Regions from separate parts of the Homo sapiens genome. Here regions 1 and 3 are each linked to region 2. The links are contacts of gene promoters, found by promoter capture Hi-C in blood cells and fetal thymus (Javierre and others, 2016). All regions are on one chromosome and are shown on one strand. The core of a region is centred on a gene start or on the middle of the fragment in contact, and the rest is flanking DNA. Distances in the headings are between cores, read along the strand shown. Region 1 has its middle 3.2 kb from the start of SPIN4. Region 2 holds the start of AMER1 (APC membrane recruitment protein 1). Region 3 has its middle 5.8 kb from the start of ZC4H2.

Evidence for each region. Contacts are between HindIII fragments. The CHiCAGO score rates a contact against its expected background, and 5 or more counts as called.
Region 1: a fragment that was not itself captured here is called in contact with the fragment with the promoter of AMER1 in region 2 in 2 of 17 cell types (monocytes and total CD8 T cells); the score reaches 10.1 in monocytes.
Region 3: a contact is called between a fragment that was not itself captured here and the fragment with the promoter of AMER1 in region 2, in 7 of 17 cell types (non-activated CD4 T cells, naive CD4 T cells, total B cells and 4 more). The highest score is 8.9, in non-activated CD4 T cells.

Annotation. Positions count from the first base shown.
Region 1 is chrX:63,352,488-63,356,567 of GRCh38, reverse strand. No RefSeq gene overlaps it. Among named protein-coding and RNA genes, the nearest start is that of SPIN4, 3.2 kb to the right of the region's middle. The HindIII fragment of the contact is 327 bases long and covers 2,629-2,955 here.
Region 2 is chrX:64,204,403-64,208,457 of GRCh38, reverse strand. It overlaps AMER1 (APC membrane recruitment protein 1), which reads left to right and starts at 2,750. Exons shown (of 2, transcript NM_152424.4): 1 at 2,750-2,888. LOC112268307 reads right to left here and starts at 2,512. Exons shown (of 4, transcript XM_047442706.1): 1 at 2,374-2,512; 2 at 1,418-1,476. The coding sequence starts at 2,439. RefSeq lists an enhancer at 2,214-2,373 and silencers at 2,504-2,603, 3,584-3,643. The HindIII fragment of the contact is 4,951 bases long and covers 1-4,055 here.
Region 3 is chrX:64,980,078-64,984,352 of GRCh38, reverse strand. It overlaps a transcript of ZC4H2 not described here. Among named protein-coding and RNA genes, the nearest start is that of ZC4H2, 5.8 kb to the right of the region's middle. The HindIII fragment of the contact is 3,364 bases long and covers 553-3,916 here.

The DNA.
Region 1 (4,080 bases), core at 1,543-4,042, 850 kb after region 2:
TTATCTCTCCGTCCTTTTTAAGGGATTCTTTGCTAAGTACAGTATTCTTAGCTGGCAGGTTTTTTTCCTTTAGCACTTTGGATGTCATCCCACTCCCTCCTGGCCTGAAAGGTTTCTGTTGAGAAACCTGCAGCTAGATGTATCAGAGGTCCTTTATAGGTTATTTGCTTTTTTTCCCCATTTCTATAATCTTATCTTTGTCCTGTCTTTTAAGTATCTGATTATAATATGCCTTACAGTAGCAGTAGTAGGTTGAATCTGCTTGGTGACCTTTGATCTTCCTATACCTGGATATTTGTGTCTTTTCCTACATTTGGAATGTTTATTATTATTATTTTCTTGAATAGTCTTTCTACCCCTTTCTCTTTTTCTATGCCCTCTTTAAAGCCAATGGCTCTTACATTTGGTCTTATGAGGCTATCCCATAGGTTTAATAAGTATTTTTCATTGCTTTTAATTCTTCTTTTCTTTTGTCACTTCTGATTGTATATATAAATAAATATATATATATATATATATATATATTTTTTTTTTTTTTTTTTTTTTTTTTTTTTTGAGACAGAGTCTCGGTCTGTCACCCAGACTGGAGTGCAGTGGTGTGATCTCAGCTCACTGCAAGCTCTGCCTCCCAGGTTCATGCCATTCTCCTGCCTCAGCCTCCCAAGTAGCTGGGACTACAGGTACCCGCCACCACGCCCGGCTAATTTTTTGTATTTTTAGTAGAGATGGGGTTTCACTGTGTTAGCCAGGATGGTCTCAATCTCCTGACCTCACGATCCACCTGCCTCGGCCTCCCAAAGTGCTGGGATTACAGGTGTGAGCCACCGCACCCGGCCTGATTGTATATTTTTAAATAGTTTGTATTTGAGCTCACTGATTATTTCTTCTGCTTGATCAAATCTACTGTTGTAATACCATAATGCATTTGTAATTCCATCCATTATATTTTTCACCTCTATGATTTGTTTGATTTTTTATTATTTCAATCTCTTTGTTATATTTCTCTTATAAATTTCTTAATTGCTTCTCAGTGAAGTTCACTGAGCTTCTTTGAAACAGCTATTTTGAATTCTCTGAGAGGTCACACAAATCCATCTTTCTAGGGTTGGTTACTGGCACCTTCTTTAGTTAGTTCAGTGAGGTCATATTTCCCTGAATGCTCTTGATACTTAAAGACATTCATCAATGCCTGGGCTTATTGAATCACTTTTTTTAATGATGGCTGCTTTAAAATCTATTTCAAATATTTCCAACATCGATTTTTTATCTGTTTTGGGCACCTGTTAATTGTCTTGTCTCTTTTAAGTTGTGATTTCCCTTGTTCCTTGTATGATTTTTTTTTAATTGCATCTTAGTCACTTTTTAATTTTATATCATGAGACTCTGTGTTCTCTGTAAACTTTTTATTGGAGAGCCCCCCTATTGTTTTGTGGCTGAAGGGCTGCTTTTGTATATATGTTCAGCTTCTTCTGTTAGGTTCCCCTGACACAACCTTTGAAAAAATGCAGCACTAACTCACACTGCCTCATTGAACATGGGCAGTACAGAAGTTCAGCTCCCATCCCAAATTTGCTGACACCTTCGTGGTGATAATGGGTTACAGGTTCATACCATCTTATGACCTCAAAGTGGGAGTGGGGGCTTATCTGAACTCTGGGACCCATTGACACAAAAGGTTTAGGGAAAGTTGAGTACCATCTAGTCCCATCATGTTTCCCTTTGTTCTGTCTCACTGACTGTGGATGAGGATGGAAGGTCAGCTACTCACTGGTTTTCACTGACATTAGGGGTATAGGGAACCAGAGTGCTGACTAGCCCTGACTTGCTCTACTGTATTCAATCTCATTGCTGTCAGGTTTATATGGGGTGTGAGTGTATCATAACAATTACTAGCACTACCTCACACTACCAGATGAATGTGGTGGAGCAACTTACCATTTGACCTTGCTGACACTATCCTGGCAGGGGAATCAGAGTACCATTTGCTTCTGCCAGAGAGGTAGTAGATCAGCTCTTTGTTCAGCATCACCAGTATTTGTCTTCCAGGGGAATAAAAACACTGCCTGTTTTCTGTCAGATGAAGCATGGAAGATCAGCTCTCTGCTTGGTAACACCAACACTACATTGTTAGGGGAACTGGAATGTCAGCTACTTCCACCAACAGTGGATGAAATATCAGTTCTCAACTTTGAGGTTTTTGACTAACTTTGTTCCACACCACAAACTATACCCCCTTTTCCTTATCACAACGAACTCTGTGCTCTTGTCACAAACTCCTGACTAGTTTGTCACATATCCTGTAACCATTCACCCTCTATGTCGTTCCTTGAGCTCTTTGAAAATACCTCACTACACTGCCACCCTCTGAATATCTTCTTTTGTTGTTATTTTAGACATTCAAGTAGTCTTTGCTGATCTCCCCAGCCATAAAAAATCACTACCTCCTTTGGGTCCCCTAGTGCTTCAGTTGTACCTCTTTTATAGCATGCATTATAATCTTTTGTGCACACTGGAATTAACAATAGTTATACCTCCCTCCACCACCCCTCCAATTATAAATTAACACTGAGTATTCCAAATTAATTTTCACTAATGTTTATTTATTAAGAAGTCAATCTTCCAGAAGCTTCCAGTATTTGAAATATTGCTCTGAAATTGGATATAAGGAACAAATCATGCCATAGCCCTCCTTGATTCACAAGCCCTGGCCAAGAGGTCTTGAGTGTAAAACAGAGGAAAGGTTTAGAGGTGGGGTATGAGCTGGGTGGTTTGTAAAAAGATGTAATAAGACAAAATAACTTCTTTCAGGAGATGACTAGTTAGGAGACAACTGAGTACTTACTATGTACCAGTTCATGTGCTGAGAGATTTGTGTGTATTTATCTAATTTAATCCTCACACTTACACTTTGAGGTAAGTTTTATTGTTATCCACACATGTAGGTTGATGAAAGCTTGCCCCCGCCCCACTTGCTTTAATGTTTTCTCCTAAGCATTTTCAGACTTATGGGCACATGTATTCACAGGGTCAGTGATTTAGGTGTTTTAAAAGGATAAAATTGCTGAGGGAGAGCCTGAGTTGCCAGAACTGTAGTCGTCAAAAGCTTGTGTAAGGCTACTTGTTTCACTGTGGAAGATGTCTTTGCATTGGGGCAGGGCAGCTGAAAGCAATTATTTATTCATTTAACAAATGTTTATTGAGTCTCTATTCTGTGTAGGGTATTTGGGATGCAAGATAAAAATCCCTTCTTGAATAAGTTTATTGTCCAGTGGGAGTCATACAAAGTGAACATTATATCAGCATGATAAGGCCTTTTAAATCTATATGTTAGTGAATGGTCTGAATATTAGAATCATAATTTTGGAGAAGAAAGGGTATTCGAATTTTTTTTTGTCTCTTCAGGCCACTTTGTGGGGTTGTAAGCAAGAATTCCCTTGAAGGATGTAACCAAAGGCCTGAGGAAACTGTTTTCCCTGCATTTGTGTGCCCTGTGGGTCATCTTCTTCTTTCATGTGTCAACTGCTCTTCTGAGCAAAAAGTGCTTGGTGTATCTTGGTCTGGGGAATTATTTGGAAGACATTATTTGTGGAACATAATGGCATAACATTTACATACGTTCACCTTCTGACTTTGAGTATGAATGTGTAGGTTGTGTATATGTGTGAATATATATACACCACGATGTCATTCTAAGTGTTTGGAAATAACTGTTCATACATGTAGTTTACCTTCTTCCTTGGAATTACTATCTTGTAATATGGCATTAAAGAATTATCCCATCTCTGAAGTCCTTTGCCTGGGAAACATGGTGAACTGGAGGATCCTTACACATTCTGTGTGACCAGCTATTAAACAGAATGAGGACTAGGTCTCTCTGTCACTGACTTGGAAGGTAATGAAATGTTCAGGCAACCAGTATTGACACCTTGCAGCTTTTGCCCCGGTTTTGTTTCCAGGTGAATTAATTGCCTTTTTTACTCATGATTATATGACGCTTTCTCTTTTCACCAGTGAAGAGTAGAGGAATGAAAATGAGAACCCTAGACTCTTCTGGATTTTAATGTCATCTTGTAAGTGGGA
Region 2 (4,055 bases), core at 1,501-4,000:
GCCTGGCATAGAGGAAATGACTATGGAATACTTGGTGAAGAAAGAAATGAGCATTGTAATGATGTGCCCTGTAATGATGTGTCTACTTGAGTTTATGAAGTTGCCTCCACACAGCCCACACATCTGTTCTTATGGGCTTTTCACCGCAGCCACAAGACACTAGGCAGCACGAGGATTATCTCCATTTTGCAGGTAAACAAACTTAAGAAAGATTTCCAGCTCCTCACAACCAGTGCCTGTCTTGACTAAGCAAGTTGACCACGTGTCAGTCAGCATGTGGAATGGGGTCTTACAGTACTCTCTCTATGAGGAGGCATTTTGAGGTGCAAGTTTATGCACACACTTGGTCTTTCCATACATCGTCCCTGGAGAGAAGTGAGCTATGCAAACAAGAAGCTGTGTTGTCCCCTCCCACATCTTTTCCCCTTTAATACACACATACAGTATCCTCCCAAGACTCAGTAATATCTGGACCATAAAGAAGGGTGCTCAGCTGGGAGTTCTCTAGGATCACAAAGAATATTTTTTTTCCTGAAGCCCCATTTCTTTTGGGTTTAGCTCAATTTCTCACGAATTGTTCCTCCCACACTAGTCACTCCAAAAACTGACTGGTGTGACAGAATGTTTGGTGGCTGGGCAGAAGGCATAGAAGACTAGCCCCTGTGACAGGAGCAGCACAATAGTGCCTGGGACTATTTCAAGCCTGCCACCTGACTACTTTGCACACCTCCTCTCTCCCTGCTTCCACAACTGAGACTGCTCTGGCCCTTTGTTTCCCTGGACCCCAGGTTTGCAAACTGCCTTCTCATAATCTTAGTCTAATTCAAAGAATCAAGGTTCTGAGTGAAATGTGAGCAAGTGGCAGTGACCAGAGGCACGAGGTAGGGAGGAAGTCTATAATGGAGATTCTGGAAAAGAAAATAAACTTCCAAATCAGGCCCACAAATGAGAATCAGGACTTTGCAAAGCAGGAAAGCATAGCCCCAGGGAAACTTTTATAGTCCAGCCATCCAGATGGGAAAAAAGTTGCATAATGAGCCAGCAGCAGCTCCCTACTCCTCATCGTTTATTTAGACTCAGTACTAGGATGGGAGTCTGATGTTCAATATTGATTTTTGTTGGCAATGTATAGAATGCCATGGAAGGTCATGGAACATCTATATTTTCTATAATATTCCGTGGAAGATCATGGAATATTATAGAAAAAAATGAGTTGAACTGTCAGATCTCAAAGATATCAAGGGAGCCTGATGATGCTTACCCTCTCCTTGTGGAGGTGGGGTGATGCCCTGGCCCAGAGAAAAAAATGAATTGGCCAAGGTGTCCAGCAAGTCTGAGGTAGAGCTAGAGTCAGATCCCTAGCAGCCATGTCAGTTCCTGTGCTCTACACATGCAGAGGCAGCAGTCCACCTCTTACCAGTTCAGCAGCTGGATCTTTTCAAGACTGTCAGGACCCAGAAGCAGCAGAGAACACTCCTGCAATGCAAAAATAGCACGCATTGTTCTCTAATCCTTCTCTCTATCCTCAGCTTTAATCCACCCACCTCCCTTTTTAGACACACACAGAGTTTTAGGGCTGGGCCTTCTGGATATTCTTGAACTAGTGGTGGAACTAGATTCTTTGCTGCCTCAGCTCACCTGGCCCTGGCAGCCACTGATGCCACTTAATGTCCTTAGGCTAGAGACCCAAGTTCGCCGGGCTCCCTGCCACATCCCACACACAGTAGCAGACAAGGCTGGTACAGGCCTCCTCACTTTGTCCTCAGCCTGACCTCCGGTTTGGGCCCAGACAAGATTTTCCTCTCAATATTTAGACTTTTCAAGGAAAAAGGCCTGCCGAAAGCCAGGCTCACAAAGGATGGGGGAAGGGGGACTCTGGAGACCTTGGGGATTCCCTCCACATTCCATAGAAGGTGCGAAATTTGGGTGAGGGTCAAACTATGGAAACAGGTATCATCTCAGAGAAGAAAAGTGAAAGCAATCCTGGAAAGGGAGCCCGGGGCTCTGGATTCCAAATTGGCCCTTGTCGCCGGCAGGCTGGGTAACTGTGGGGAGGGACTTTCCCCACTCTGGGCAGCAGAGGGCCCGTCGGTAACGGGTGGAAGTTGGCCTCTATGGTCTCTAAGGGCACTGGTGTGCCAGAGAGGCGGACGAAGTTAGGGCGCAGGCGCTGCAGCTAGCTTTCCTGGCAGGTGAGTCCCTCCTCTGGGTGGCCTGGCGGCGCGATCCGCAGGGCCTTGTCTCTACGACTAAGGATAGGCCGGCCCTTAGGTTTCTGCAGTCTTCCCAGATTCCTCAACCTCTCTGCCTCGTTACTCCCCGCCGGCCTCTAGCTCAGGAATAAACGTCCTGGTGGCGGCCAGGGCACAGTACCGCGAATGCACAGCGGCCACAGAAATGGGAGTGCGTGAAAACCGAAACCGATCCGGCGAGCCCCATCCGGGCAGGACTGGCTCCTTGAGGCCACGGTGTAGCCACGCCACTACCAGCCCGGCGTGGGGGCGGGAGTGGGGAGCCCCAGCCAGTGGTTCCGCACCCTCTCCGCCCCCTGCCAACACCACGCCTGCACTTATTTGCATTTAAAGAGAAACGCACCAAGGAAAACAGTGGGCGGGCCGGGGCACGCCTTCCCACCATAGCGATTGGGCCATATGCCTGCCAATCAGGACGCAGATGCCCCACCCGGTGGCCTTGGAGTACTGGGGGAGGGGGTATGGGGGAGCTACCCAAAGCCTGGGGAAGGGGAGTCAGTGCTGGAGGTGACTGGAGCCGCGGCGACGGCGGCAGCAGCTGCGGTGGCGGCGCTCTCAGCCGTGGCAGCCGAGGCTGCAGCCCGGCCCAGGGCGGCTCAGCGGACAATAACCGGGCTAGGAACCTGACCGGGCTGGGTAAGCGTTGCGTACAGCCAGGAGCCTCCGCCTGCCCGCGGTCGGGTGCATTCCCGCGTGCTCTGCTCCTACGGACTGGAGGAGGGCACTAAGGACTAGGCGGGTCGGAGTCCCGGTCGCTCGCCCCTCTCCTTTGGAACCCGCTTTGCGGACTGTCGGGTGGAGAGGCAGAGCGGCCTTGAGTCCCCTGGGCACAAGCGACCACGGCTGGGGGGAGGGGGGTTGGGGAGGGCGGGTAGGAAGGCAGGCTAGCCTGGGCCAAGCCTCCCGGCTTTCGGGGGGGCGGGGATGGGCCCGCACGTGCTGCCGCACAGTCCCGGGAAGGGCGCCGCCAGCCAGCACCCCAAGCCATGCATTTGTAGGCCAGGAGCTCTGCAGCTTTGTTGTAGCACATTTGCTGGAACAGCTGTGTAACGCGGGTACCGCTCACCCCTCTCTCCGGCTGCCTGGCTGCCGCCCCTCCCCTCCCCTGTGCATCTCCAGCCTCTCCCTCCTTTCTGCGGACTCAAGCTGGCGTGCTGGCTTGGGCCCGACGGAGACCGGCTTTGGCGTGGATTGGGACATCCACAGACTGCCCCCTCCCCAGAGGAGCTCAGTTGGGCCTGTGGGCTGAGCTCAGTCGCACACTTCCCTTCAGAACCTTGGCCTTGTGGCCCCAACTAGCCGCGCCCCTCCTCCTGGGCCTCCGGGCGCATCTGGCGCCCGCCCCCGCGGTCGGGCAGGCTGGCTGGCAGCCGGGCTCTTGCTGGTCCTTGGGTTAGAGCAGCGGCGCAAGCTAGTCCTTGAGTTAGAGCTGCAAGGCCGCTTTGTCTCCCGCCTCGCCTCGCCTCACCTCCTTTTCCCTTGGAGGATACTGGCCGCGTTTTCCTCTCCAGCCTCCCGTTTAAAAATAGCAATAGGCACGGTGTTTGGGGGGCATTTCCTTGCCAGAGGCCGAAGGAGCCCTCATTGTAGTACGGAACGTATCATACCATCTCTGTGTACAGGAGAGCTAGCGAGGTGGCCAAACCCTCCAACTTCGCAGTTACTTAACATACCCAGCCCGCCAGGCCCCTGTCATTGTCTGCTGGAGACACTTCTGACACTGGTGACCGCCCGAACGCTGGACTTTGCTTGGCTCCCCCGGTGGTGAGGGGCTGTGCCCGCTACATGCGTCACAGCCCAAGC
Region 3 (4,275 bases), core at 985-3,484, 780 kb before region 2:
CTCCTGTCCTCTTGTGTAGCTGGCTTTGCATTTATCGAACTCTTTTTCTATTGTGAAAACCTTCTGTTCTCAATGCATTGGCTTTTCTGGGAAGTGAGCAAGATGAACCCCTTGGGTGATTACATTATCCTAAGTGAACTAACACAGGAGCAGAAAATAGAATATCACATGTTCTCACTTATAAGTGGAAACTAAACAAAGGGTATACATGGACATAAAGGTGGAGAAAATCGACTCTGGAGACTCAAAAACCATGGAGGATGGGAGGGAGGTGCAGGTTGAAAAACTGCCTGCTGGGTACAATGTCCAATATTTTGGTGATGGGTATGCTAGAAGCTCAACCCCCACCATTATGCATATAATATCCATGTAACAAACAAGCACATGTACCCCCAAATCTAAAATTTCAACAAAGAAAACAAGGAGGTTACTAATAAACGTGTTGAAGTGAAATGTTGGGTCAAGAAGACATTCCTTGAATTCCTTTGTGTCTTCAATTACTCTTTTTCCCTCAAGAAACCCAAAATCATTCAAATTATTCCCCAAAAAGCTTATCTAAATTTTTAGAAGGCAAAACTTTTTTAAGTTAAATGTTTGAATACTATTCCGTAGAGCTACAGGTTATTTTTTGATCTAGTTTATGATATAAGTTGAGATACATTTTTATGTGCTAACATACACTATATATGATTTATCTTATTAATTGGAAGAGTAGATCATGTAATCAGTGTATATAGTAAATTTACAGTCATTTTATAGGACTGGGAACATGATTTTCATATTTTTAAATAATGTCAGATGTATAAATTTGTTATATCCTCAATTTTATGACAGATTGGCCACATCTATGATGCATTTGTTTGGTATTTTCATTCCCAAGTAGATAAGCACAATCGTTTTCAAGTCTTGTGATTTAGAGGATAATAGGAACCTGTCTGGTAGGGGAGCTAGGCTGCCAATGATGGAAAACAAGGAGGTAACAAGAAAGTTTATTGAAGAATATCCATCTTAATAATAATAGCAGACACTTCTACAGTATTTATTATGCTGTTTTAGCCAGTTCCGTATATTAATTTAATTACAACCCTAAGAGTTAGTTACAATTACTATCATTTCCATTTTCCATACGAGAAGACCAAAACCCATAGAGGGGAAGTTATTTGCCCTTGAGTCAGATAGCTAAAAATAGTAGAGACCAGAGGTGAGCTCAGGCAGCCTGACTGAAGAGTCTGGGTGCCTCACCACTATGCATACTGCCACCTGTGCTAGGAAAGGAAGGGCTATCTGGGAAGTCAAGCTGGGCAATTATACGTGATATATGCAAGGGGATTTTGAAGGCCCAGGAGAGGACATCTGCCTTCCCACTCCTCTCCCAATCTGTTTACTTGCAGATACCAGATGTTTCATTCATAGGCATAAGGTTTGGTCTATTGTTTACAATGCAACCAACCCCTGGGTGGGGTACTACTAAGATTTATGTGTTATTTTTACTTTCCCAGTCTGTTTCATTTTTATTTTATGAGTGTCATTTTTCATTGTACATTTTTATACAGTTGAATCTGTCCATCTTTTCCTTGTGGTTGCTTATTTGTCATTGTGGCTTTATAAGTTATCATCCCTCTAACGCTTCTACTATAAATGAAGCCATTTTGCCCCAAACTTAGGGGAAATAATGGCTACAACCTTCACATCAAATGCTGCCCTGTCCATTTTGAGATTTCTAAATGAAGCCTCTGTCATTGTCTTCTCAAGCCTAAATCAAGACAACTTATTTATAGTTTTTTCATGCTTCTCTCCTGTTTCTATTCACTGAATTATCCCCAAATTTGGGTTCTCCAAATGACTCTAAGAATTAGGGCAAGTGGTGAGAAGGATGAGGGATATTGACCTGTAATCAATGCCTATTATAATTCAACCAATGTGCTAGGTGCTTTCTCATAACTTATCTCTTTTCATTTAATCATTAAACAGCTCTGTGAGGGGGACAAGGGCCCTATGAGTAGTTCTAAAGTACCCCAGCCTGGGAAAGATGTGCAGGGAACCTGGTAAGACTCAGCCCTTTTGGAAACTCAATCCCATACTTAGTTCTGGTGATATAAAGGAGGCTGTTAGAAACGGAAGGTCATTGGAGCTAGACAGTCAGTTTTGGTCACTCTCAAAGAGGTGAGAATTGAAGAAGAGGGGAGGGTGTGGATGAAAGTTTACTAAGAAAATGCAGTAGATGTACACTAGACTGCTTTTATAATAGGATTTTTTACACTAGGGTTTTTCGGACTTGCAGAGGGGAAAAATGGGACTCCCCTACTTCCACTGCCAGATCTTTGTTCCCTGAAATTTGCATTTGGGGGATCTAGGTCAGTGACATTGGGTAGGTGAGAAAGAATAGAGGAGTGAAATTTCAATGACATAAAGCCATCAAAAACAGCAAGAATTTCAGCTGAAACATTGCCTGAGAATACCTAGCACTGTCTATGTAAGCAGATACAAATTCTGGCTAATCACCCACAAGTCCCATCTCCTAGGGGAATCTTCAAAGTTAAGGCTTCAAACACACCCCTCAACACCCCAGCTGAAGGGCTGAAGTGATGGAGAACATGAAAATTTTCTGAGAGAGTGTGAAGAATGAGATTACCTATCTCAGCTCCTAACTCCCTAACCTAGGGAGGTCAATTACCATTTCTGTTCTTCAGTTTTTCCATATATCACATGTGAGTGCCTTCTAGCTCTAACATCGTACGGTTCTCTTCCAGTCTTTCCTGTTTCAGTGAATGGCACTGACCTTATTACTGAAGCCAAAAATCCAGGAGTCATTTTAGATGCCTTATCTCGCCCTCCGTACCTCTCCATCCTATCCATGAGCTAATCATATCAGTTCTGTGCCCAATAATATGTTCCCAATCAGCCCATTTTTCTTCATATCTACTATTACTACTGTAATTCAAGCCACCATAATTTCTTTCCTGGACAACTGTAATAGTTTTCCCACTGGTTTTCCTACTTCCACTTTTGCCCCAATAAAATCTGTTCTCACAGCAGTCAGTGATGTTTAAAAACTAGATCATGTTGCTCCCCTGCTTAAAACCCTCAATGTTTGCCTATTGTAATTAGAATAAAACCCAGACTCATCACCATGGTTTACAAGACCCTGTTTTTAGAATAACAGTTCAATGACATAAACTGTCTCCTCAGTCTACTTCTGCTCCCCTTAATCAGCCAGAGCCCTACCTACTTTTTTTTTTCATAGGCTAAGCATTTTCTGACTCAGGACCATTGCACCGGCTATTCGTTCTGCCTGGAGCACTCTTCCTCCAGATCATTGTATGCCCAACTCCTTATGTCTCCACTACAATGTCATCTCTGAACAGGAGCCTTCCCTGACCATCCTAACTAAAACATTCCCCCTCCTGCCATCATTCTGTCCTATTATCCTCAATTAGTGTCTTATGGGCTTATCTCCCCCAAATATTATTATGTTTATTTTTTTTTCTTTTCTGTCATTATTGTCTGGCTCCTCCTACTAGAATGTAAACTTCCTAAGAACTGGGATCTTGGGTAACTAATAGAACATAGTAGGTGAGAGCATGGCTTCTGGAGGCAGACTCTCTAAATTTGAATCTCAGTTCTGCCACTTACTAGCTGTGTTACTCTGGGCAAGTTACTTAACTTCTCTGTGCCTCAACTTCCTCTTCTGTAAAATAAGGATGATAATAATATATACTTCCTGTGAAGTTTTTGCAAGGATTAAACTAACTTAATACATGCAAAGCACTATATATCCCTGGAACCTAGGAGAGTGCCTGGCATGTAGTAAGTGTTCAGTAAATATTTGTTGGCTGTTTGCATGAATTAATCCTCGATACCTCCTGCTGTTTCCCTCCCTTCCTCTCTCATCCTGCCTAGTTTTGTTCAGGAAGCTTTTCCCTGACTCCTTGCCCACTTCTCAGGACTAAATTGGTTCTCCCCTTATGTGTGTGTGTCTTGCTCACAGAACCTAGACTTATTTCAAGCCCTGATTGCTAGGTATAACTATATATGTATGCATGATCTTTGTAATAGCTGGTCTCTCTCACTAAATGGTAAGCTTGGTAAGGGCAGGGCCCATGTCTGTCGTATCTGCTATGAAATCTTCACTGAAACCTCGATGGTTCCTGACATATCATAGGTGCACAATAAACATTTTTGGGCTGAAAACTTTTGGCTCACTTTTCTCTTAGAAATGCTGATTAAGAAATATAATGAGAAATTTAATAAGTAATTTGCACTACTTTTTGAAAG